Regions from separate parts of the Homo sapiens genome. Here regions 1 and 2 are each linked to region 3. Evidence: promoter capture Hi-C in 16 types of primary human blood cells and fetal thymus (Javierre and others, 2016). All regions are on one chromosome and are shown on one strand. Each heading gives the region's core, a stretch centred on a gene start or on the middle of the fragment in contact. The rest is flanking DNA. Distances are from core to core; before and after follow the strand shown.

What was found. The method cuts DNA at HindIII sites, captures the fragments that hold promoters and counts their contacts. A CHiCAGO score of 5 or more calls a contact.
Region 1: the fragment with the promoter of MORC2-AS1 here is called in contact with the fragment with the promoter of PES1 in region 3 in 1 of 17 cell types (endothelial precursors); the score reaches 6.4 in endothelial precursors.
Region 2: the fragment with the promoter of TBC1D10A here is called in contact with the fragment with the promoter of PES1 in region 3 in 1 of 17 cell types (naive CD8 T cells); the score reaches 6.0 in naive CD8 T cells.

Annotation. Positions count from the first base shown.
Region 1 is chr22:30,920,265-30,923,657 of GRCh38, reverse strand. It overlaps MORC2-AS1 (MORC2 antisense RNA 1), which reads right to left and starts at 1,350. Exons shown (of 2, transcript NR_026920.1): 1 at 1,143-1,350. LOC107985544 (a long non-coding RNA gene) reads left to right here and starts at 1,879. Exons shown (of 3, transcript NR_146603.1): 1 at 1,879-2,070. The HindIII fragment of the contact is 12,308 bases long and covers 1-3,393 here.
Region 2 is chr22:30,325,536-30,328,745 of GRCh38, reverse strand. It overlaps TBC1D10A (TBC1 domain family member 10A), which reads left to right and starts at 1,805. Exons shown (of 9, transcript NM_031937.3): 1 at 1,805-2,073. The coding sequence starts at 1,865. RefSeq lists silencers at 1,553-1,882, 2,183-2,232 and an enhancer at 2,449-3,210. The HindIII fragment of the contact is 3,707 bases long and covers 674-3,210 here.
Region 3 is chr22:30,590,047-30,593,758 of GRCh38, reverse strand. It overlaps PES1 (pescadillo ribosomal biogenesis factor 1), which reads left to right and starts at 1,849. Exons shown (of 15, transcript NM_014303.4): 1 at 1,849-1,949. The coding sequence starts at 1,926. RefSeq lists enhancers at 1,227-1,306, 1,527-1,826, 1,306-2,021. The HindIII fragment of the contact is 19,848 bases long and covers 1-2,571 here.

The sequences.
Region 1 (3,393 bases), core at 101-2,600, 330 kb before region 3:
CTGTTCCTCCTCTAAAATAACGGAGTTGGGTGATGGCAGAGGCTTTCCAGCTTATTCAGCCTCAGGAGTACCTAAAATTTATCCAGAAGCCCATATGGAAAGCCAGGAGTCCTGGAGCTGCTCTGGTTGAAGCTAGGATGGGGGCCCAGAGCTCCCTGCTGTTCTTGACCCCCAAATCTTTGCTTCCAAGATTCACTGGCCCCTACCTGCTACCTGTAGGCCTTCACCTGCTTACTTGTGTCCGATGTAGGGATTATGGGCTTACTCAGCAGCCATCCTCATGGCCTAAACATTTGGCCAATTTCAGTGTCCCCGAAGGGTGAAGGAGGTCTGGGCTTCCATGGGGCCTGAACTGCAGGTACCTTCAGCACTTCCTGGGGTTCTGGACATGTCAACAGCTGCCCACCAAGGCCTGGAAGATAAGGAGGGCTCACACCACTAGTGCAAACTTGGATCAATGAGAAGGGAAGGATGCGACAGACGTATCCCTCCTCTTTTCTTGTCCCCTCTGGATTCTGTTGAGATGCTTCCAGGGATTCTCCGAGGCCCCTTCCTGCTCCAGTAACTGCAGGTTACTGGGGAAGCTGTGGCCAGCTCTAATCCCCTACTTTTTTTTTTTTTTTTTTTTGAGACAGTCTCGCTCTGTAGCCCAGGCTGGAGTGCAGTGGCGCCATCTTGCCTCATTGCAACCTCTGCCTCCAGGGTTCAAGCGATTCTCCTGCCTCAGCCTCTCTAGTAGCTGGAATTACAGGCGCGCGCCACCACGCCCGGCTAATTTTCGTATTTTTAGTAGAGATGGGGTTTCGCCATGTTGGCCAGGCTGGTCTAGAACTCCCAGTCTCGAGAGATCCATCTGCCTCAGCCTCCCAAAGGGCTGGGATTACAGACGTGAGCCACAGCGCCCGGCCTAATCCCCTACTTTGATTTACTGTCCCTCCCCACATCATTTCTTCCCTTATTGAAAGCTCTGGGTCCTCCCCAATGCCCCACCATGTAAACCAATCTGTCCTGCTGGGTTTGGGGCACCGCGGTGGGCAGGGGAGAACCCGTTTGTCAGAAGGTTCAGAGTTTCTGAGTTCCTCATGCTTAATCATCAGCGGCCACAGCACAACAGTGGCCGAGGGTGGGTTGTAAATTCTCACCTGGCCTAGAGGACGCAGCCACGACCCCAGCGCTTGGCCATCTCTGTAGAGGATTCGCGGGTGGACCATGCTTAGTCTAACAGGGTATGGTTATTAACGCCCGTTATGAACGGTTCATAACCAGCCAACGGTTATGAACTGTGGAGGGCTTCCGCAATCCCGCCACACGCTCGAGGCGGAAGCGACAAGACGCCTGCGTGGTTTTGCTGGCGCGCCGCACGTGCCCGTACCGTGACCTGCGCATGCGCTTTGGAAGCCTCGCGAGCTTCCTGCGGCACTCAGGGTTTGGTGCAGGTGCCTGTGGCCTTTGGGGGTTTCCTCGCGTCTTTTAGGTAGATGCTTCCAGGGATTCTCCGAGGCCTCTTCCTACTCCAGTAACTGCAGGTTTCTGGGGAAGCCGTGGCCAGCTCTAATCCCCTACTTTTTTTTTTTTTTTTTTTTTGAGACAGTTTCGCTCTGTCGCCCAGGCTGGAGTGCAGTGGCGCCATCTCGCCTCACTGCAACCTCCGCCTCCAGGGTTCAAGCGATTCTCCTGCCTCAGCGTCTCTAGTAGCTCCTTACAGGGAGAGCAATGGCCCACTCACACCCGAAACAGAGAAGCGAGGATTTTTTTTTTTTCCTGCAAGCTGCTGCGCATTAATTAAGTCAAAGTGCAGAAGAAATCTTTTCTACCCCGGCTTTCCAACTTTCCGGGGGTCATTAGGGAAAAACATTCGTTGAACAGATGTCCTTAGGGTCGGCGCTTTTATCTCTGAAAGGAAGAACACTTGGAAAGGAAGCTGCGTGTTTTTCCTCTTGCCCGGAAGAGCCAGCCTGTATGTCTCCCTTTTGACCCGAGGCCAAGCGCCTGAAGCCTCTTGGACTTAGTTAACATTAGTCCGTTTTCTATGCGTTTGTCCTTGGCTTGGTTTATGGTGTTTGTTGAAAGGTAAATGTTTTAAAGTTTTGGGGATTCCTATCATGCTTAGGGAAATCAATCCCCTTCTCTCTTCTCCCCTTCCCCCGATATTCTCTTACATTTTGTTGCAATGTTTATTATTTATTTTTTACTAGACAACCTATAGTCCTTATGGAATATATTTTAGTATAAGCTGTAAGGCAAGAGTCAAGCGTCTCCCGCCCCCAGGTGGAAATTAACTTATTCCAGCCCCACTTATTAAATGAGCCTCTTACTAAATGAGCCAACAGGTGTGGACCTGTTGAGTTTGAGATCCCGCTTAGACGCCAGTGGAGACATCTGTGGTCAGTTGCACAAGTGAGTCTGATGTGAGGGGTGAGGTTCTGGCTGAAACTATAATTTTGGGCGTCATCAGCATCTAAATAGATCAGTCTCCCTCACTTGTTAAAAAATGCTTTTCCAGTCTTAGAATGTATTCTCTCACATGAAATATTTAATCGCATTATCCAGTTCGTTCCCATCCCTGCCTAAAAGAAAGTGTTCCATTGGGATTTAAATTATAATTGCATTAAATTTAAATGGAAGTTTTGGGAGCATTGACATTTTTGTGATATTAATCCTCCCCCAGAGGATAAAAAATGGCTTTCCATTTACTCAAGACTTCTTTTAGGTCCTCCAATAAGATTTTATAAATTCTTTATACGGGTTCTATAACTTTCTGGTTAAAATTATTCCTAAGTGTTTTATGGTTTTTGTCTATTGTGATGGAATACTTTTTTCCATCTGTATTACTCATTGATTATTAATATGTAGAAAAGCTAATGATTTAATATAATTCACTTTCTGTCTTAGGAATTCTGGTAGTTTTAATAAGCCTGTTTTTTATAGATACAAATTTGCCAGTATACCAATTTATTTTGTCAGTTTGCTTTAGTTAGAACCTCTGAAACAATGTTGAATAATGATCCCGGGCTGTTTCTGATATGCGTGGAAATCCGCATGTGAGAGTTGAGCGGTGAGAGTTTCGGCAAGTGGCTTTTAAAATGTTGGGGTTTCCTTTAGTTTGTCTTGCGGCTGCTGGGACTCACCGGTAGTTGCCAGTCCTGCCTGAGTTGGGCGCCAGGGGGCAGCAGTCACACAGAATGAAACGTGGGCTGTGCCCCCTGGAAACTGGCTGAATTTTGTCAAATGCCTTTACACCTTCTATAAAAAAAAAAAAAACATAGAGTTTTCTCCTTTATGCTGCTGTTTTTATTTTCAATTAGACATTGAGTAGCTATGAAAGAATGCTGTATAAAATATTTGTAAAGGAGGCCTGAAGCGGTGGCTCACGCCTGTAATTCCAACACTTTG
Region 2 (3,210 bases), core at 556-3,055, 260 kb after region 3:
TTCTTGCCTTGTTTATGGAAAGCCAGAAGCTCATGGAATGTGAGGATTGTACAATGACGCCATCAAGAATGTCCAGGCCACATGGCATCAAGGTGAAATCACTCAAGGCTCAAGACCCCCTCTTGGGGCTTGCCTTGGGGCCCTGAATAGTCTGTCCCAGGCCCTGCAGCCAGGTCTGAGTCTTCCAGTCCCTTCCCCTCTCTAGGCCTGTCTCTCCCACAGGTCTGCAGGGAGTGTCAGATGACAATATACTGTGACTTGTAAACCATAAAGTACTAGACATAAGCGAGGAGCTATCATTATATTATAGATCCAAGAGTTGACAATCTCTAGGGTCAGAAATCAGCTGCTTGGGGCTAAGCCCATATAGATAAAATCGGCCCATCCCTCCAAATATAGGCAGTTGGTAAGAGCTAAGTTCGAATCCTGGCTATATTCACAGCTAATTCTGGGACCTTAGGCAACTGACTTTACCTCAGTCTCCTTAACTGTAAAATGGGACTAATAATGGTGTATACCTCATTGCTAAGAGATTACAAGACATGTTGCAACCAATTTGGAAAACAGTTTGCCAGTTCCTCGAAAGGTTAAACAGTTGCCATATGACCCAGCAATTCCACTCTTCCTTATCTATCCAAGAGAAATGTAAACATAAGGCCCCCACACAAAAGCTTGTACCTGAATGGTCAGAGCAGCATTATTCATAATGGCTAAAAACTAGAAACACGCGAATGACCATCACTGATGAATGGAAAAACAAAATCTGGTATAGTCCCAGCTCCCAGGAGGGGCAGTATAGGTCTTTCATGGCGGTGTGGGCCTATCCCAGGAAAGGGAGGGGTGGAGTCAGACATACCTGGGGCAGATGTGAATCCAGAAGCACTGATACATGCTACAATGTGGATGAAACTTGAAAATGTTCAAGAGAAAGAATCCAGACATAAAAGGCCATATATTGTATAATTCCATTTATATGAAATATCCAGAAAAGGGACATCTATAGAAACAGGAAGCAGATTAGTGGTTGCCAGGGACTGGGGGAGCCAGGATGCGGAGTGACTGCTAATTGGTAGGAGTTTCTTTTTGGGGTGATGAAAATGTTCTAAAATTAGAATGTTGTGATGGCTGCACAACTCTGTAAATATGCTAAAAATCATTGTACACTTTAAACGTGAATTTATGGTATGTTTATGTTCCATAAAACTGCTGGGGAAAAGACTACAGGAGAAAGTAGGTAGAGCTTCGGGCGTGCGTGGCTCAGTAAACGCTGGTGATTATTAATAATTAGGTCTCACGAGGTAATTTAAAGCCCCAGAAGCAGTGAGTGCAATGGGACTGCCAGACTTCTGGCTCAGGCTGGGCCTTTAAGCCGCTCTGCGTCCCTGAACTCACTTGGGCCTCCTCAGAGTTCCTCATAAATGAATGGGGCAAACAATCCCTACCACGTCCTTGGGGTCTCGCAGGGAGCGGGGCTCAGGAGGCAGATGAGGAATCCATGGAGGAAGCCCTGGGCCTCCGGCTCGCGCTCTGCAGTAGGTGACAGGCCCCGCTTGGAGCCAACCCGGAAAGGCCCGAGCTCGTCCAGGTGAGTTCTTGTGATTGGCAGCCCGGAGGAGGGCGGGGAGGGCTGCGGTGACGGCTGCCCCGCCCCCTCACTTCGGGCTTGTTGGCGCCCGCCGGGGGAGGGTGGGCGGGGCCCGGGGTCCGCGGCGCCCATTGGGCGTGGGGGGAGAGCTCCGGGGTGGGCCTGGAGCCCCGCCCCCCGGCCTTGCGGCGGCCAATAGGCGCCGCGCGTGGGCGGGGCGTCGGCGGCAGCAGGGCGGCTGAGGTGGCCGCTGGAGCTCAGGCGGCGGGCGCGGCTGGGATGGCGAAGAGCAACGGAGAGAATGGGCCGCGCGCGCCCGCGGCCGGGGAAAGCCTGTCGGGAACCCGGGAGAGCCTGGCCCAGGGCCCCGACGCCGCAACCACCGACGAACTCAGCTCTCTCGGGTCTGACTCGGAGGCCAACGGCTTCGCCGAGCGCCGCATCGACAAGTTCGGCTTCATCGTGGGCTCGCAGGGCGCCGAGGGCGCGTGAGTAGCGCCGGGGGTCGGGACTGAGCGCGCCACCCACGCGAGGGGCCTCGACACGGACGGAGGCGCCCTCGGGACTTGCCGACACGTCCCCCTCCCAGGCAGGGACCACTAATCCCCGTTCCCTCCCCTGCCCCACCCCCACCACCCCTGCCTTCCTAGACCCGCCCCCTTCGCAGTCCTACTTCCGACCCAGGGGGCGGACGGGCCCACACCTCCACCCGCCACCTCCACCCTCCGGACAGACTGACCCGCTCCCAGGAAGGACCGACTGTGCCCTCCTTCCAGCCGTGGAACAGAATGACAGACTGCCCCAAACCCACCCCTGCCGCCAAGACCTTAGGGATGATTGTTTCTGCCACCCCGACAGGCTCCCAGATGGCTGGCGCCCCCCTCCATAGACACTCATTCTCCATCTTTCCCCCTCCCACAAACCCACAGACGCCCTTGTCTCCCCGCCTCACTGCCCCCACACCAGGAGACCTCAGACCGACTTCAGGACTGACTGCCCCGCCCCCACCCCTTCCCAGGACAGACTGACCCTTTCCTCGAGGCATACAGACCTCTGGATGGACAGACATTGGTCACCTCCCTCCCCTCAGCTCCATCCTGGGACAGACAGTCCCTTCTCCTCATGGAAGGGTCGGAGAAGGGCCCCCTATCCGCTCATACACAGCTTCCTCCACTGGCACTGGCAACAGGTGGGCAGGTACTCCCCCTTCCCAGCACGTACAGGGCGACAGGGAGCCCCACCACTAGGACAGACCATCAGCTCCAGCAGCCACAGGAGCCAGTAGATGGGCTCTGTGTATGTCCTGTGTATGTATGCGCCTCCTCCCAAGGGCAGATCTTGGGCGTGGGACGGGGGCAGGCAGGGAGACAGCAGGGTCCCTGCTCATATTAGCACCCCCCGATGTCCTATCCCGAGAGCACCCAGACACCCAGCTAGCAGACAGAGAAATGTGGGGCAGTGGAACAGCACCTTGCCTCCAAGCTGGGCCCCATGTTGCCCCACAGAATCCCCCGAGCCCAGGCCTCAGAGATCATGTGTACAGGCTGGCGGTCCCCTTAGGAAAGATGGACTCCATACCCCACTCCCATCCCAGCTGTCCTGTCACGTGAGACCAGTGTTGTGCA
Region 3 (3,712 bases), core at 600-3,099:
GCTGAAATTACAATTGCTTCCCTGAACATCCCCACCTGTGTCTTCCAGTGACCCCTCAACATTAATGTGAGCAAAACAAGGCTCAACTTTCTGCAAACATGGTTCTATCTGTGCAGGACGAGCTAGGTGATTTGTGAGGGACAGGGTGAGATGACTGCCCAGGCCACATGCTCACGACACCAGCCCTGTTCCTGTGTTGCCCTCATGAGCCAGCCACTGCCACCCTCTCCAGTCCATCCCTTTCCTTCTTCTTCTTTTTTTTTTTGAGATGGAGCCTCGCTCTGTCGTCTAGGCTTGAGTGCAGAGTGCAGTGGCACAATCTTGGCTCACTGCAACATCTACCTCCTGGGTTCAATAAATTCTCCTGCCTCAGCCTCCCAACTAGCTGGGGTTACAGGTGCCTGCCACCACACCCGGCTAATTTTTGTATTTTTGGTAGAGATGGGTTTTCGCCATGTTGGCCAGGCTGGTCTCAAACTCCTGATCTCAGGTGATCCGCCTGCCTCAGCCTCTCAAAGTGCTGGGATTACAGGTGTGAGCGACCGTGCCCGGCTTCATCTCATTTTTAACTGTGGAATTGCTGGGTTTTAAATTTTAGCTTTAAATTAGATAGTGCAAGTCACATAGTTCAAAACAAGTATTCACCAGTGCTTAACGTCTGTCTCTGTGTAAGTTCTAAGACCAAGTCCTTGGGCCAGGTCACATTCACAAGAGCCTCAAATTTAAACTTTTGAGATCATCTTCGAACGAAATTTGGAATTTGGAAAAAGGGAGAAACGTTTAAAAAAAAAAAAACCTCTTAAAATTGCATCTACTTCCAGACTGCACCATCTCAAGGTGATGTGACTATTTGTATAAATCTTGGAATTATTATTTGAGGAACACTTACAGAATTTATGTGTACAAATTAAAAGCTCGAATATGTTGAATGTACATTTAATTTTATTTATTTATTTATTTTTGAGATGGAGTCTCACTCTGTCGCCCAGGCTGGAGTGCAGTGGCAAGATCTCGGCTCACTGCAACCTCTGCCTCCCAGGTTCAAGCGATTCTCCTGCGTCAGCCTCCCGAGTAGCTGGGATTACAGGCGTGTGCCACCATGGCCAGCTAATTTTTGTATTTTTAGCAGAGACGGGGTTTCACTATATTGGTCACACTGGTCTCGAACTCCTGACCTCAGATGATCCGCCTGTCTTGGCCTCCCAAAGTGCTGGGATTACAGGCGTGCGCCACCGCTCCCAGCCTTGAATGTACATTTTAAATATACCACGAGTCCACCACTAAGGCTCAGAAAATATAAGTGGCCTCTAGGATCTCTATACCTCCGCGAGGAAAAATGTCTTCCTTTTTTCTATTTTAGCCGCATAACCGCGAATGAACCAAAGAGAACCCGAAGCCGGTGGGAACTCAGCGCAGTCTCACCCTGCCCCTCGGGAACCGCTTCTCAGCAGCGGCAGCCGAAGTCTGACGACGCTTAGCAACCGTTACCTTGACAACGCAATCCTATCGCGCACCATGGAGTGCGGCGCCCCTCTGCATCCCAGAAGGCACCGCGCTGTCCCTAAGCCTTCCGCCCCTCTCCGTCCCAACATGCAACGAGGCTCACAGTCAATGAATCGTCATCAGGGTGATTACAGAAAAGCCTGTATATCCACGTTTGTTTTAACACTTAAAGTGTTTGTAACCATTGTGAGCGGGAAAGATCTGGAAAGAGTGTTCTCAGTGATTTTTTTCAGACTATAGTTTTAAATCTTGAGGAGGAAATCCCCATCTTTCCCTGGACTTGTACAGGCATCTCATTGGGCAGCCCGCACAAACAGACAGCGTGGGGTGGGGAGGGTCCTCGGGGTCCTTGGCAGGGCACGTGCGGGAGGAAGTGGAGCTCCCTGTACGCGCGGCCCTAGTCGGCTCCTCAACGTGGAGCGATGGGAGGCCTTGAGAAGAAGAAGGTGATTGGGAAAGACGGTGGGGATTCCCGAGGGGTGGGGTGCGGGGGCGGCAGAGCATGGGGTCGACTCTTTTCCCGGGCTCCGTCTCGTGGAGACTGGAAAGACGGGATCGACGTGACCGTAATCAGCTGCGAGAAGGGGTCCGAGAATGGACAAGGATGGCAGTATTCGTTTAGTGAAATCCGAGAACGAACTCCAGAGTTCTTTCTGTGGAGAGGGCTGTGAAAGAGAGTTGAACTTACCAAGCGTAGCTTCATTCCAAAAGCAGGCCGAGCCGTGGGACCACTATTTACCGAAAGGGTGATAAACATTACGTAGAGCTCACCGTTACTGCACCGTTACATTAGTTGGTTAGTGTTGTCTTGGAAGTTCTCTTCGAGGCATAACATTTCGGCTGAAATGGGAAAGATCAGAACGTCTTGGATGGGTTCTGGGGCATGGGAGTGCTTAGCGAGCAGGCCTGACAAGGGAAACCAAGTGCCAAGATCAGTAGGCAGGGAAGGCTTGCTGTGTGTAAGGAGTTGGAAGGACATTAGGATGACTCGCATGTAAACCAAGAAAAGAATGGCATCTGATAAGATTGGGGTTGGACACGTACTGTATCGTGCAAGGCCTGTAAGCTTGGATTTTATTCTAAGTGCAGTAGGAATAGTGTAGAGCTTGGATTTTATTCTACGTGCAGTAGGAAAAAAAGGAGGAGTAACACGATTAGAGTTTTTCAGGGAGTTCTTGTGGCTGTATGGAGAATCGGCCCAGTGACATGAAAAGACTGGGAAGGGAATGGGAATGAGGAATATATAGTTGGCTTAAGTGTTTCTTTCAGAGTGAAAGTTTCTATTGCCAGTGTTCTTAACCCAACACACTACATTGAGTATCCAGTGCTAGCCATCGGAACTGCAAAGATACAAGATGGAAAACCTGCCCTTGAGTTGCAGATGTAGATATGTAACAAAATCGTTACAGTTTTTAAAAGCTGGGTTTCAGAGCCAGAATCAACAAAGATGAGTCTTTGTTGTGGGAAGGATTGTCTTGTGTGTAGTAGGATATTTGGCAACATCCCTGATCCTTTACCTACTGGATACCAGTAGCACCCAGCAACCAAAAATGTCTCCAAACATTGCTGAACTCTCCTCCCCCCAGCACATACCCAGGGAGTACCCCATTGAGAACTATTTATTCCCTTAACATTTATAAGGATAAGCATGGTGACAGAGATAAGTGTGGCATAAGGTAATGGAAAACGCTATAAATGAAAACTCAACTTCTTAAGGCAGTCTGAAACTCATCTTTATACCTCCAAGACTTAGCATGGGCCTAATACCTAATAGACAATTAATGTCTAAAGGAAAGAATGAATGAAGGGTATGTTTCATGACTATGATGTTATTAGTAAACGTACCTGTGGGAGACTAACAGGTTTGTCTCTTTAGAGCTGAACCTAGCCAAAGAGGCCCCTGCTGTCTTAGTCCAGAGGAAGATCTTGTTTGGAAACGACATGCTTGTTAGCTTGCAGGGTATTTGTTACAGTGCACTGATTGTCTCTATCGAGGGATACAGAAGTGTGAGGGATACAGAAATGTGGGTGTGAGGCAGCATCTTAGCACCACAGGCATCCAGATGGTTATACAAGACAATAGGCTTCTTAGGGGCAGGTAGAGACCAGGCTTTTTGTCTTTATTGCCTTCATAGCATCTAGCTTAGTGCTTTGACCATAATAGAGGACCTGTTATTGTCTGTTGAATGAATGAATGAGGAAGGGGAGA